5 separate regions of the Homo sapiens genome follow, and all the other regions are linked to region 4. Evidence: promoter capture Hi-C in 16 types of primary human blood cells and fetal thymus (Javierre and others, 2016). All regions are on one chromosome and are shown on one strand. Each heading gives the region's core, a stretch centred on a gene start or on the middle of the fragment in contact. The rest is flanking DNA. Distances are from core to core; before and after follow the strand shown. Region 1 overlaps FBXO3 (F-box protein 3). Region 2 overlaps EIF3M (eukaryotic translation initiation factor 3 subunit M). Region 3 has its middle 8.9 kb from the start of LINC02721. Region 4 holds the start of CSTF3 (cleavage stimulation factor subunit 3). Region 5 overlaps CD59 (CD59 molecule (CD59 blood group)).

Region 1 (2,700 bases), core at 69-2,568, 590 kb after region 4:
CACAGTAATATCCCCAGTTGTTGCTACACATTCTGGATCGTGAACATATCTAGGTAATTTAAAAATTAAACATTTTAAAATCAACTACAGGATTTAAAAGATACGATGCAAAATAGGTTATACTTTAGGACAAAAAATTTAAATCATATTTCAGACCCAGAAAAGTTCAATAATATTTGGGTATAGTCCTATTAAACTTTGAAGGAAACTAGAAACAAACTACAAAACCTTGGTGACTCTGGATCAGTAATGACAGCAATCAAGGTTCAATGATCAGTGGTTCAAATAACGGATTGGTAATTAGCTTGGAAACAAAAATGAGCTTATTCAGTTTCCAGGGCTAAGGAAACTTTTGGGACATCTGAAAACCCAGCTGCATGATGTCCAATGCTAAATGATGGCTCTGACAATAAAAATGTGCAAGTATGCTGTTCTCAGAAGCCTCTAATGTATAATCAATCTATCATTTCTGCCAACCAGGCTATTATGAACCAGTATTACCTCCAGTACTCCCTACAATACCTGAATGTTCCATTTAGAGATAATAAATATTTGCCAGGAATTAACAGTTACCGACTTGCTATTCATAATAAATCTATCAGTTGCCAAATAACTTTTTGGTGTTTTTCAAAAATAAATTATATAGATACTATTAACCCATAGTTTCTAAATCAAAATCAGCTTTTTCTTGATTCTTCTGGATAGGAAAAATACCAGTTGTCTAAGCATTTAGATGTTTGGCTTTAAAGTGAGAATAAAATAGTGAGACTGAAGACAATCTTCTATTATCAACCTCAATAGAGAGGTTCTATTATCAACCTTCTTGGGAAACTTCATTTCATGATCTGTGACTTATCATTTTTCTCTGATTTACAATCATTTCAATCCAAAAAGACCCAAAATAAAATACCTGAAAATTTGGTCTCTGATGATGGGGAAGCCACCTGATACAACATTTTTGACATAAGAGGTAAACCAGTCAGTAAAAGTAGCACCTATAAAGCAGGAAAGGGAGAAAAAAAGAAAAGAACAAATAGTTTTGTAAAATCTATACAGGAAACAATTGTAATTCCTCTATGCTTTAGAATGTGATACCAAAACTAGAAACATTTATAGATATAATTGTACTAATTATTTATAAGATCAATTTCTATTCTCAATTCTATCCACCTTATTTCCTTGGGATTCTCCCCCTCTTCATCCCCCCAACTATTGTTAGAGAATCCTCCAATGACCTTCAGACTATTTTTTTACACTTATAATTAATCAAATTTTAAACTTTAATTCATTGTGGTACAAGAATGAAAAGCCTTCTGTCTGTAATTTATTGAACATATAGAACAAAGAAAATACAGCTATGACTAGGAAGAAACTACAAGAAAAATATCAGCACCTATTCTCAGACGTCCCTGGTCCAGGTACATCCTGACTCAAGCACAAAATTTTGGCAGAAGCCAGGCTCAGTCTGGACATCTACCAGGGACATGACATTGTGGAGTTCTGTGCATCGGGCCAATCCCAAAGTGGTCTAGTTGCACACTACTATAGATTTAATTGCACAGCGGTCCTCCATCTTCTTAGTGACCAGCTCAAAGCAGAAAAGGATTACTGGAACAGTCTAGTCCAGACCATATATCTGTGATCTAATGATTGGATTATAACAAGTATTTACATGAATTAATAATGTTTACCCCTTCTAGGTAATATTTAACATAACTCTGTCAGACCCCCCATTATTTACTGTTAATACATCTCAGTGCCTGGAATGTATTAGTCCTTTAATTAATGTTGTTCAACAATGAATTTCTTTGTAATCTGGTTTCAATTAACCCAGTTTCTACACTCTGTCACACTGAATGTCAGATGCTAAATTTATAGTGTTTACTAATTATTCTATTTAGGGAATGATAAAAGATACAATTTGGCTTATATCTAAGGGTACAAGGCTTTAAACTTTTAAAAGGCATCAACTGAGAGAAGGCAAACTATAATAGTTGGCTCTTTCCTCAATATCTATTAATGACCCATTCTGACCCAATATTTATTAAACACTATTGTATTCAAGGTTCACTGATCATGTACCTACTTTGAGTAAGATATTAAGAAGTTATATAAATAATGTCATTAAAATTCATAGAAGGTATAATTTTACGTTTTTAGCACTAGTACTTTCTCTGAAAGAGTTTTTAAAAATCATATATATGTATATTTTGTGGAAAAAAGTTATATAACTAAAAACAAATTTGTGGTTTGCATAAAAAAAATTGGCATGGTGTATTTTAATCTACCTTATTTTATTACAATACGTACCAGAGTGTATTCTTTAAGATGAGGACAGACTAGGCAGCATTCACTACTAAACTTATCTGACAGATTCCAGGTTTCTTAAATATCTATTATTAGTACACTGAACACCAGGATATGCCATTTTGTGTGTTACCAGTCTAAGCAAACTTAGTTGAATCAAGATGCAATTTATATGTTCTAAGGTAATTTACCTTTTAAAGTAAGCCCATGTGTTGGGGTCTCTCTGATGGTTCTGGAGCTTTATCAAGGCAGCTGAAAGGAAGCTCCTTTTTCATCCTTCCTCCCTGCATTAACTTCTCACCTCATCTCTTCTCAGTGTCTCTCAATCTTTTGCTTTGCTCTCCCATTTTAAGAGAAATCCCAGCTACTGGCATAGTATTATTACACCTTAGT
Region 2 (2,700 bases), core at 78-2,577, 570 kb before region 4:
TGGTCAAGAGTTCAAGACCAGCCTGGCCAATATGGTGAAACCCCGTCTCTACTAAAAATACAAAAATTAGCCGGGCGTGGTGGCGGGTGCCTGTAGTCCCAGCTACTTGGGAGGCTGAGACGGGAGAATCGCTTGAACCTGGGAGGCGGAGGTTGCAGTGAGCCGAGATCGCACCACTGCACCCCAGCCTGGGCAAGAGAGCAAGACTTCATCTGAAAAAAAAAAAAAAAAAAAAAAAGAAACCACATCTTAGGTATCAATTTCCTTCCTCTTTAATAAAATATACAAGTTGCTTTCTGAATGCGAAAGTGTCTTACATTTGATGGTCTTCATTGTATTAAAACACTGGAAATGCATATTTAACTAGACGCATTGAGTATTGTAGTATCACTGTTGATTGTGTTATCCATACTTGTGTAGATGTTGAAAGTGTGATGAACAGTGTGGTATCCCTACTCTTGATCCTGGAACCAGACAAGCAAGAAGCTTTGATTGAAAGCCTATGTGAAAAGCTGGTCAAATTTCGCGAAGGTGAACGCCCGTCTCTGAGACTGCAGTTGTAAGTTAAGATCTGAAAGAAACTCAGTTTTTCTAGGTGCTTTTTTCATGTTACTAACTTTTAATGGTGCAGAGCAGGAATTCTGGAACTTGACTCTCAGCTGTGGCTCATATTAGCTGTGACCTTGGGCAAGTGGCTTGACCTTTCTGTGCCCTAGTTTCCTCCTTTGTAATATGAAGTTGTTAACGGTACCTGCCACAGGTTTGTGGTGAGAGCTAACCTCAACTTAAAACTGGTTGCTGATTTCAAACATTGTTTATTTGTTTGTTAACCAACCAGGTTAAGCAACCTTTTCCACGGGATGGATAAGAATACTCCTGTAAGATACACAGTGTATTGCAGCCTTATTAAAGTGGCAGCATCTTGTGGGGCCATCCAGTACATCCCAACTGAGCTGGATCAAGTGAGTTACTGTGTGGAATAGTTGTTCTGCTTATAAGAAATGTACTTTTTTTTTTTTTGAGACGGAGTTTCACTGTTGTTGCCCAGGCTGGAGTGCAATGGCGCAATCTCAGCTCACCGCAACCTCCGCCTCCAGGGTTCAAGCAGTTCTCCTTCCTCTGCCTCCTGAGCAGCTGGGATTACAGGCATGCGCCACCACGCCCGGCTAATGTTGTATTTTTAGTAGAGACGGGGTTTCTCTATGTTGGTCAGGCTGGTCTCGAACTCCCGACTTCAGTTGATCCTCCTGCCTTGGCCTCCCAAAGTGCTGGGGATTATAGGCGTGAGCCACCACGCCCAGCCAGAAATGTACTTTTATATGTTATACTTTATATGTGTTACTCAGTTTTCTCCTTTTGTCAATCTCTTGTAGGTTAGAAAATGGATTTCTGACTGGAATCTCACCACTGAAAAAAAGCACACCCTTTTAAGACTACTTTATGAGGCACTTGTGGATTGTAAGAAGAGGTATTCAAAAGTAATGAACTAACATATCACTTAACAGACAGTATAAGTAGGTGGGGATGTTTTTTAAAGAGAAGTAGGGCCAGTAATTTTGCTTTACTCTGTTCTCCACAGAGTTGCTATAAATCTATTTCTATAAATTTGACCTAAAGTTAAAGATAACTATAAAGATTAAAAGTAGTTTTCCCTCATCTTTGAACTTTTTAAAAAGTGAAATTTGGCTTTTTTTCTAAAAAAAGAAAGGTGGGGCCTTTCCAACATGGGCTTCAACCTACTGCTGTAGCATGAGCTTGGTGAATGTGGTGAAGCATCTCATCATTTTTGGATGGTGCAGTGGCAGACTACAAAAAACTTTGTGTTAATGTAAATATTCCATCTCTCCACCCATGTCCTTCCTCTTGCTTATCACACTCTAGACCCAGCGAGCCTATGTCAGGTATAAAAGCACCATGCTCTTTGCCAGTCTGGACCAGGAGCTGGCACTGGTTCTTCTATAGCCCGTGTACTAAGAATGGTTTTAACATTTTTAAATGATTGAGAAAGAAAATCAAAGAAAGGGTAATATTTCATGATATGTGGACATTATATGAAATTCAGATTTCAGGGTCCATAACATTGGTATTACATCCATGCCTATTCATTTACATATTGTCTGTGCCTGCTTTTGCCAAGAGTTTAGTTACAACAGATACCATATAGCTTGCAAAGCTTAAAATATTTACTCTCTGGCCCTTTATAGAACGTTTGCCTACCCCTTGTCTAAGTAGTCTTACTATAGTCAGCTTCATGTCTCTGCCAGAAACACCCCTCTCATATTTCGGTTAGTGCCTCCCTTTTACAGCACCCTCTACTTGTATCCTAGCATTTAACACCCTTAGTTGAAAGTAAGGTTGTAGGCTAAGTGAAGGCAAGGAACCTCATCTGTAAACCATTGCATTCCCAAGAAGATAGCACTTATTGGGCACTGAGTGGATAAATGCTACCCACAGTAGGGAACTGGAAGGGGATACTTGTTTAAACACGACATTTCTGACATTCTGCCAATCTAAATGTTGAGAGTTGGTTTTCTTCTTTAGAACACATAAAATACATATTTTAATCAGTAAAATTCTGAGATTTTACCTAGCAGTTAAGTAAAAATGCTTCAAGTTTATGGGTGCCCCCTTCATGACTTTATTTATATTGGTGGTTGATGCACATGGTGTTTGTTGTGCTTTTTTTTTTTTATTTGAGAT
Region 3 (2,700 bases), core at 162-2,661, 670 kb after region 4:
CCAGATGTGCCCAGTCTCAGATTCGAGTCTGTCCTAGCCATAGAACACCAGTTCCCTCAAGGAGAGAGGTGGAGTCAAGATCAGGACCAACAGGACATCAGAGTTCAGGGCTGTCTGATGAATTCAAGGAGATTCTTATTTAATCCATTTTCCATAGGAAACATCGACTCCTGGAAGAAGTTGGTGTGGGCTGCCTGGGAAAGGAGGTTTAGCATCATATGTGGGCTGGTGGTGGTGTGCTCTGGCTAACTTAACATCAAGGGATAGGGAGGTTCTGTCCTCAGACCCAACTGAGTTCCCATCATCCCCCACACCATGCCACCCATCAGTGAGTACAACCTGTAGGGATGCCCTGGAGGCCAAACTTCCCCTAAGTGCTGGGCTTTCAGCTTCTCTTCCCAGAACATCAGACTGACTTAGCTTTGGAATAACTTGGAATTGCAGACTGAGCATTCTGAGAATTCTGGTGATGTTGCAGGGTAACCTGAAATGGGCTGCCCTCCAGTGGGGTTATTGGGCAGAGTAAGGGTCAGGATGGAAGTCTGCCACTTTAGCTGAGGCCAATTTATTATTCATTTATTTATTTATTTAGAGACAAATTCTCGCTCTGTCACCCAGGCTGGAGTGCAGTGGTGCGATCTCAGGTCACTGCAACTTCCACCCACCAGGCTCAAGTGTTCTCATACCTCAGTCTCCCGAGTGGCTGGGACTACAGGCATGCACCACCACGCCTGGCTAATTTTTGTATTTTTAGTAGAGACAGTGTTTTGCCATGTTGGACAGGCTGGTCATGAACTCCTGGCCTCAAATGATCCACCAGCCTCAGCCTCCCAATGTGCTGGGCTTACAGGCATGAGCCACCGCACCCAGCCAAGAAATTTAAGTACATTTTCCTTCTATTTATATTTTGTAAGGGGCAGAACCAGGATTTGGACCCAGGTGTCTAACTCTGGAAGCTAAAAGCTTTCCATTATAACAAGTTGCCTCACCTGAGCCCGACTTAAAATCAGGTGATCTCAGCTATACTGGACTCCAACAGGAGTCATTGCTATTTTCTTGCTGTTGTATTTTATTCAAGTTTAGAAAAAGAAATAGCCAAAAAGCTCAGGCAAGGAGCAGACAAGACACAAAGAACTCTGAGTTCTGCCTGGGGAAGGAGCAGGGGACATGAGTCACCTTCCCCTCTAGACACAGTACTGCAATAGGATAATCCTCTCCCAACTTCCAAATAGAAGTGGCCAAATTTAGTGGCAGGAGGAGCTAGGGGCAATGTGATTGCGACTCCCACCTCTATCCAGAGAACTGGCCCTAAAGCATCTCACCTGCTGTTTCACCGAGAGGCTCGTGGTCTCCAGCATCACCCAAGAGCTTCTTAGTAATACAGAATCTTAGGCCCCACACCCAACCCACTGAATCAGAATGTGCATTTTAACAAGATCCCCAGGTGATCCTCATGTACATTACAGTTGGAGAAGTGCCTAGAACTTGACCCTTCACCTCGTTATAACTCAGTAACTTCACTTGTGAATCAGGCACAATAGCACCTGCTTGACTCACCACTCCTGGCTGTATGAGGATCAGAGAGGACAATGTAGGAAGTTAGAGGCAGAGGTGTTCAGGAAGTTATCTCTCGTGCCCCCTCTACCTTCTCCACTGCCATGGAAGCCTAATCTCTCTCTCAGAGGGAGAAGACTAGCAGGTGGCTCTTCTCTGGAAGAGCAGAGGAAATCAGGGACCCTCAACAGCCCATCCTCCATGGCCCCTGGGGGAATCTCTGAAGATTCTAGCTTTTCAACTGAAAGTTAGGCTGTAATTGACACTGTGTAATCCAGTAGACGGAATTTTGCAGAAATAAATATGAAGCTTATATTTGGGTTTTTAAAAAATCAAATTAGGCTGGGTGCTGTGGCTCACGCCTATAATCCCAGCCCTTTGGGAGGCCGAGGCAGGTGGATCACCTGAGGTCAGGAGTTTGAAACCAGCCTGGCGAACGTGGAAAAACCCCATCTTTACTAAAAATACAAAAATTAGCCAGGCATAGTGGTGCATACCTGTAATCCCAACTACTCAGGAGGCTGAGACAGGAGAATCTCTTGAACTTGGGAGGCAGAGGGTGCAGTGAGCAGAGATCGCACCACTGCACTCCCGCCTGGGTGACAGGGCAAGACTCTGTCTCAAAAAAAAAAAAATCAAATTATATAACAAATTATTCATGTGTGTATATATATATATATAGATATTAGGTTGGTACAAAAGTAATTGCGGTTTTTGCATTGTTAGAATTTTCCGTTTGATATTGGAATAAAACATAAGGCAAGAAAAGATAAAATTAAGAACATAATTCTTATTTACATTTAAGAATGTAAATAAATGTGGTTACCGTATACATCATTTTAATGGGCATTTCTCGCTTTATGTTTTTTTGCTAGTTTATTTTATGTTTATTTTAGACTATGGAAATGATGTTAGACAAAAAGCAAATTCGAGTGATTTTCTTATTTGAGTTCAAAATGGGTTGTAAGGCAGCGGAGACAGCTCGCAACATCAGCAGTGCGTTTGGCCCAGGAACTGCTAACAAACATACAGTGCGGTGGTGGTGCAAGAAGTTTTGCAAAGGAGACAAGAGCCTTGAAGGTGAGGAATGTAGTGGCCAGCCGTCGGAAGCTGACAATGACTAATTGAGAGCCATCACTGAAGCTC
Region 4 (2,700 bases), core at 37-2,536:
AGTGCGAAGATTTCTGGACTGAAACCAGTCCTCGGGCAAACACAAAACAATTTAATCAAACTGCCGACATAATGAAATCTACAGTCTTACAGACTATGCAATAGAACGCTCCTATTTTGCCTCATCTCTGCCAACCTCCAATAACATCTTCCACGTTATAAGCTAGGGAACCTGAAAAACGAAAACCTAAGTGCATGTCGTTGCTATGGCAATGGGAAATTTCAGGAAATTGAGACTGCAGGCTACCTAGCCTCCATTTTAGAAACTGTATTTATCTAAACACACCAGGACTTAGATCGAAAAACACATTTAATGGCATTTTTCATAACTATTTAGCTTCCTCTTTCACACTAAAAGGTAAATACTATCCTACAAAATTCTGAATACAAAGAGCAAAAGAAACAAATCACACTGATCTAACCTAAAAGTGTGAATTTTAAAATATTTAGTTGTCACTCATATTTACTATTAAAACAGATGCTTTTATTTACAGTGGCCAAAACAGACTTCTCATTTTCAACTTATACCTGCAATGTTTATGTAGCTGGAAAAATGAAAACGAAATGTGGCTAAAAGAAAAGAAAACGAAAGAAAGCCACAAAATTCCCAAAACCTCAGCATAACTTGCTTCTTTCTTCACTCGCTCTCATTAAGTCTTAATTCTCCAGATTAGCTTTGTCTCAAATATTTCTCAAACTAGTAACCTATTTCTGGGTACAGTATATTTGGCGGGGTAAAAGAAACACTGTCAAGTTTTTCTAAAACGTCGGGTGCACGTTAAAATAATTCCTATCCACTCTAATACCAAAACGATATCAAAGGAAAGCATCCCATCTGGAGTAGTCCCATGAATCTAAATAGGACGAAGCAGCCTACCGCTATTGTCTAAATCAAGTATTTACTCGTATTCATGCCTAAGAGAGAGAAGTAAAAAAAAAAAAATTAAATCTTAGATCTTGCTCCCCATTCCCACCACTCTTCTATATACCCTGTCCCCCGGGTTCACTAGACCCAATTCCTTCCTCAGCCGAACATGTCTGGAGCAGTCGGAGGAACAGACGTGGAGAAGAGGTCGCCACGAGGCCCCACCACTCTCCTTCCTCACCTGCTCCGTGGCTCCGTCTCCTGACATGGCCTCAGCTGATTACAACGTGCGCACTGACCGTCGATGGGAAGCTAGAAAAGAAAAATTAAACTAAAAACCACCCCCAAATCAGTAAAGTTACCCCCTGCCCAGCTGAGCCAGACCGCCAACACCAATCGCCACCGCCCACTCAAATATGAATTAAAATGGCTGCGCCCCTGCCGGCCGAGGAGGAGGTGTGTGGCTTCCGCATTAACTTCCGGGGCAGTGGGCGGGGCTAATTTCGCGACTCTGGTTATTCCGAGCGTGCAGAAAGCAGCGAGATCCCGGGGCGGGCCCAATTCCTGGGCTGACGTCACTACCCTGGCTTGGAGAGGCTGTTGCTGAGCCGGCTCCAACCGGCTGGAAGGCGGGAAGCTGTTTCGCCTGGAGGCTCGCGCGCTTTTTGGAATTCAGTTATCAAGCTTTAGAGCCTGGCTACTCACAGTTGAAGCCTGATTGCAGGTCAGCAATGCTAAACGTTAAATGCCTCTTATATTTAGGGGATAAGGACTCCGTGGAGGTTTTCTCTGGTCCCAGCTCCTGCTTTTTACTTTTCTTGGGGGTGGGAGGGATAGATCAAGCCCCCATTAATTTTTACTGCCACCGTCGACTCTTGTGTAGAAAGCTTTGAAGTCTGAGACCTGGGTTTTCAGCTCAACATCTCAGCTTGGTTCCTTGACTGCAAAGTAGGTATAATTGTTTGTAGCCCAGACTGCTTGGATTTTAACGAAGATAAGTAACTCTGGTAATTAAACTTCGTACCTCAGCTTTCTGGCCTATAGATGGGAATAATAATAGTACCTGCAAGTGAAATAAATTATACATAGAAAAGTGTTAGAACAGTACCTGGCATTAAGATTAAATGAGATTGACTGGGCGCGGTGGCCCACGCCTGTAATCCCAGCAGTTTGGGAGGCCAAAACGGATGGATCATTTAAAGTCAGGAGTTCTAGGCCAGGTGCGGTGGCTCACGCCTGTAATCGCAGCACTTTGGGAGGCTGAGGCGGGCGGATCACAAGGTCAGGAGATGAGACCATCCTGGCTAATACGGTAAAACCCCGTCTCTACTAAAAATACACACACACACAAAAAAAAATTAGCCGGGCGTGGTGGCGGGCGCCTGTAGTCCCAGCTACTCCGGATGCTGAGGCAGGAGACTGGCGTGAACCTGGGAGGCGGAGCTTGCAGTGAGCCGAGATCGCGCCACTGCACTCCAGCCTGGGCGGCAGAGCGAGACTCCGTCTCAGAAAATAAATAAATAAAGTCAGGAATTCAGGACCAACCTGGCCAACTTGGTGAAATCTCGTCTCTACCAAAAATACAAAAAAAGTAGCCGGGCGTGGTGGTTTGCGCCTGTAGTCCCAGTTACTCGGGAAGCTTAAGCAGGAGAATCGCTTGAACCCGCGAGGCGGAGGTTGCAGTGAGCCGAGATTCCAGCCTGGACTACAGAGCGAGACTCCGTCTCAAAAAAAATAAAAAATAAAAAATTAAATGATACTAAATCTTCTCAAACTGCTCTTCCATTTAAGCGTCATCGTTAGATGTCTGCAAGCATTTCTCGCCTACGGGGGTCC
Region 5 (2,700 bases), core at 62-2,561, 560 kb after region 4:
ACAAAAAAAAACAAGCAATAGGTCAGTGGACAATGGTTTGATATTTTAGCCACTAAGCCAGGGTAGACGAGGTTTCCCCTGGGCCATAAGAGGCAGAGCTCAGAGGAAAGTTCCCCTGCAGGGTCCTGAGACCCTTTTGGGCAGCAGCAAAGAAGGCCTCTCATCTGTGGGCATGTGAGCTTCACATCTCAATTCTCTGAGAAAGGGCTGAAGTGCACCCCAAGACTTGTCACAGAGAAGCTGATGGTCCCAAGCTTGCTCCATAAACAAATGCAGACTGCTGGAAGTAGGATGTCACTGGGCTATTAAAATTCTAGAAAATATTCCAACTTAAGCAGCAGAGACAGAAAAAAAGAAGGAACCAAGAAAAATGAATAAATAAAAAATAATTATAGAAAAAATATAGTGTTTTAACACAGGTGAACCACATTACAGTGCACCCTGGCTAGAATCACGGAAGGTGGGGAAGAAGGGGTGCCATGACTTCTCTTTCTGCTCAGAAAGGGAGAACATATTAAAGTGTGTCCTGGCGCCAAGTTACTACTTTGCCTTCATTTCCTCAGCTGTAATATGGGAGGTAACAGTACCGACCTCCCGGAATGGCTGGACGGATTTAAATGAGACAGGCTCTGGCACAGTCCCCAGTAAACAATAAACAGTGAATATATGGTTGCTGTTAATATTCTAAGACATGCTACAGTGGTGTGGAAATCTTTTTTTAAATTGCTCACTGTATTGCCACTTTCTTTTCTGCTCCCCCCACCAACCATATTTATAAAAAACAAAAAACCAGCAGTGGCCAAGATATTATACCAACATGACACAGGCAGACAACCACACTTGATCTTTACAATGAAGCATGTGTGTTTCCACTGTTATAGAAGTTGACTCAGAAGCACACAATTTCCTCCAGCAACCAGGGGAGGGGTGGCTGAGGAGAGGGGGTGGCCCAGTGACAGATGGCCTGGAGCAGGAGGGAAGAGCAGGGACTCTGTTGCCAGACTGTGTGTTCACATTCCCGTGTACCACTTCTGTGTGTTATTTGACAAGTTATTAATTTTGGGGAGGCCTCAATCTTGTTGCTTGTAAAACAAGGATAAAAATACCACCAACTCCATCAGGTTGGCATGAGGATTAAATAAGCAAATACACGTAAAATGCTTAGAGTAGTGACTGGCACATAAATGCTTCAGGGTTAGTTAGCTGCTGCTGCTGTCACTATGACCATCATCATCATTAAAACACAGGAGGAGCCTCAGAGCAGAAGGACTGAGCTCAGATGGCTCTAAGCAGAGTGGACCCCAAAGGGACTTGCACAGCACTCTAAGAATGGTATCCATTGGTGTCCCCAAGCAGCTTATGGTGACAGGAGTGAAACTTCAGCCGCCGATTGTTGACCCACCCCTGCCAAAAGCCACGCTGTAACTCAGGACGGGCTGTAACTCAGGACGATGCCCCACTGAGGACAAGGTCATAACATAGGAAGGAGCTGTCATACAACCCCAGACCTGTAACACTGGAAGGCAAAAGAACCAAAGCCAGGCCTGGAGGAGCAGCTGGGGCTGAAACTGAGGCTTAAGAAGGGAGTTCATGGCCAAGGCAGCCTAGATCCATGTCCTGAGACTGGAGCACTCACCTGAATGGCAGAAGACAGCCAGGACGAGCAGCAGCCCGAACAGGACAGACCCTCCTTGGATTCCCATTGTGATTGTCCACAGAACCTGGAAGGAAGGGACAGGAAGGAATGTCAGGAACGAACAAATGACTGCTGGTTGTCTCAAAAACCAAGGGCTGGAAGGCCAAGAAGGCTTCTGAGAGGAACATTTACAGGGGGAGTCAAGGCACACTGAATCCCTGGGCCATGCCCCAGCTCTGACCCACAGCACCATATACCCTTGAGTAGGCTCAGTCCCTATAAGCCCCAGTGTGTACTACCACACTGTGGGAATAACACTATCTTCCCCATCAGGGTCAGTGAGTCAAATGACAATATGAGCAAATTGACTCATATAGCCACTGTGGTTCCCACTCTACTGGCCCCACCCCAAGCTGCTGGCTGAAAGAGAGGGCCACTTCTCGGAGCCACAGCACTAAGTGAATCAGACCAAAGGGGTGACTCTGGAAGGCACCAGCATGCATTCAGCAGTGGAACAGGGAGCAATGGCTTAGCATACCTGGAAGCTCTGGCTCCTCACTGTAAGAAGTATAATGGGGACACTTGCTTGCTCTCTTTGGGGACATGAAGAGAGGTATTGAGCAACTTTGTAAGTTTCCATTACGTGAATGCCTAGATGTGTAGTGATAGCATCAGGTGAGAAGAAGGAAAGCCTGAAATGCCTCCAACCCTACTTTACCCAGTAAAGAAGCCAAAGCTTAGGGAGGTTTTGAACTTGCCTAAGTACAAAGCATCCATAGCAGAACTAAGAAATCTCCCAACTCCAATCCTACATCCCTGAACCCATCCTGAAATAAGGAGGTGGCAGTGCCTGTAAACCAGGGTACTCCATATTCTATTCTCCAGAGCCCCACAGGCCCGGACAGACAGATGGGTTCTTGGAAGGGTGAGTCATCTACCCTCCCTAAGTCAGAAATGCAGAGTTCCCTGGGGAACTGACAATCCTGACAATCATTCCTGTCCCTTCCTTCTCACACATCTTGAAGGTCATCTGCTACTTAGGAATTTGCTGACGCAGGCCAGTG

Evidence for each region. The method cuts DNA at HindIII sites, captures the fragments that hold promoters and counts their contacts. A CHiCAGO score of 5 or more calls a contact.
Region 1: a contact is called between a fragment that was not itself captured here and the fragment with the promoter of CSTF3 in region 4, in 2 of 17 cell types (naive CD8 T cells and M0 macrophages). The highest score is 5.5, in naive CD8 T cells.
Region 2: a contact is called between a fragment that was not itself captured here and the fragment with the promoter of CSTF3 in region 4, in 5 of 17 cell types (total CD8 T cells, non-activated CD4 T cells, total CD4 T cells and 2 more). The highest score is 8.2, in total CD8 T cells.
Region 3: a contact is called between a fragment that was not itself captured here and the fragment with the promoter of CSTF3 in region 4, in 1 of 17 cell types (naive B cells). The highest score is 6.8, in naive B cells.
Region 5: a contact is called between a fragment that was not itself captured here and the fragment with the promoter of CSTF3 in region 4, in 4 of 17 cell types (M1 macrophages, M2 macrophages, endothelial precursors and 1 more). The highest score is 6.1, in M1 macrophages.

What each region holds. Positions count from the first base shown.
Region 1 is chr11:33,750,613-33,753,312 of GRCh38, forward strand. FBXO3 (F-box protein 3) reads right to left here. Exons shown (of 11, transcript NM_012175.4): 7 at 911-995; 8 at 1-49. Among named protein-coding and RNA genes, the nearest start is that of CD59, 16 kb to the left of the region's middle. The HindIII fragment of the contact is 3,344 bases long and covers 1-2,700 here.
Region 2 is chr11:32,588,174-32,590,873 of GRCh38, forward strand. It overlaps EIF3M (eukaryotic translation initiation factor 3 subunit M), which reads left to right. Exons shown (of 11, transcript NM_006360.6): 3 at 421-559; 4 at 839-962; 5 at 1,374-1,468. Among named protein-coding and RNA genes, the nearest start is that of EIF3M, 5.7 kb to the left of the region's middle. The HindIII fragment of the contact is 1,687 bases long and covers 485-2,171 here.
Region 3 is chr11:33,829,929-33,832,628 of GRCh38, forward strand. No RefSeq gene overlaps it. Among named protein-coding and RNA genes, the nearest start is that of LINC02721, 8.9 kb to the left of the region's middle. The HindIII fragment of the contact is 900 bases long and covers 962-1,861 here.
Region 4 is chr11:33,160,194-33,162,893 of GRCh38, forward strand. CSTF3 (cleavage stimulation factor subunit 3) reads right to left here and starts at 1,287. Exons shown (of 21, transcript NM_001326.3): 1 at 1,106-1,287. The coding sequence starts at 1,132. It overlaps CSTF3-DT (CSTF3 divergent transcript), which reads left to right and starts at 1,464. Exons shown (of 4, transcript NR_034027.1): 1 at 1,464-1,588. RefSeq lists enhancers at 1-516, 1,252-1,671. The HindIII fragment of the contact is 5,866 bases long and covers 1-1,546 here.
Region 5 is chr11:33,720,743-33,723,442 of GRCh38, forward strand. It overlaps CD59 (CD59 molecule (CD59 blood group)), which reads right to left. Exons shown (of 4, transcript NM_000611.6): 2 at 1,637-1,721. The coding sequence starts at 1,703. Among named protein-coding and RNA genes, the nearest start is that of CD59, 14 kb to the right of the region's middle. The HindIII fragment of the contact is 2,118 bases long and covers 253-2,370 here.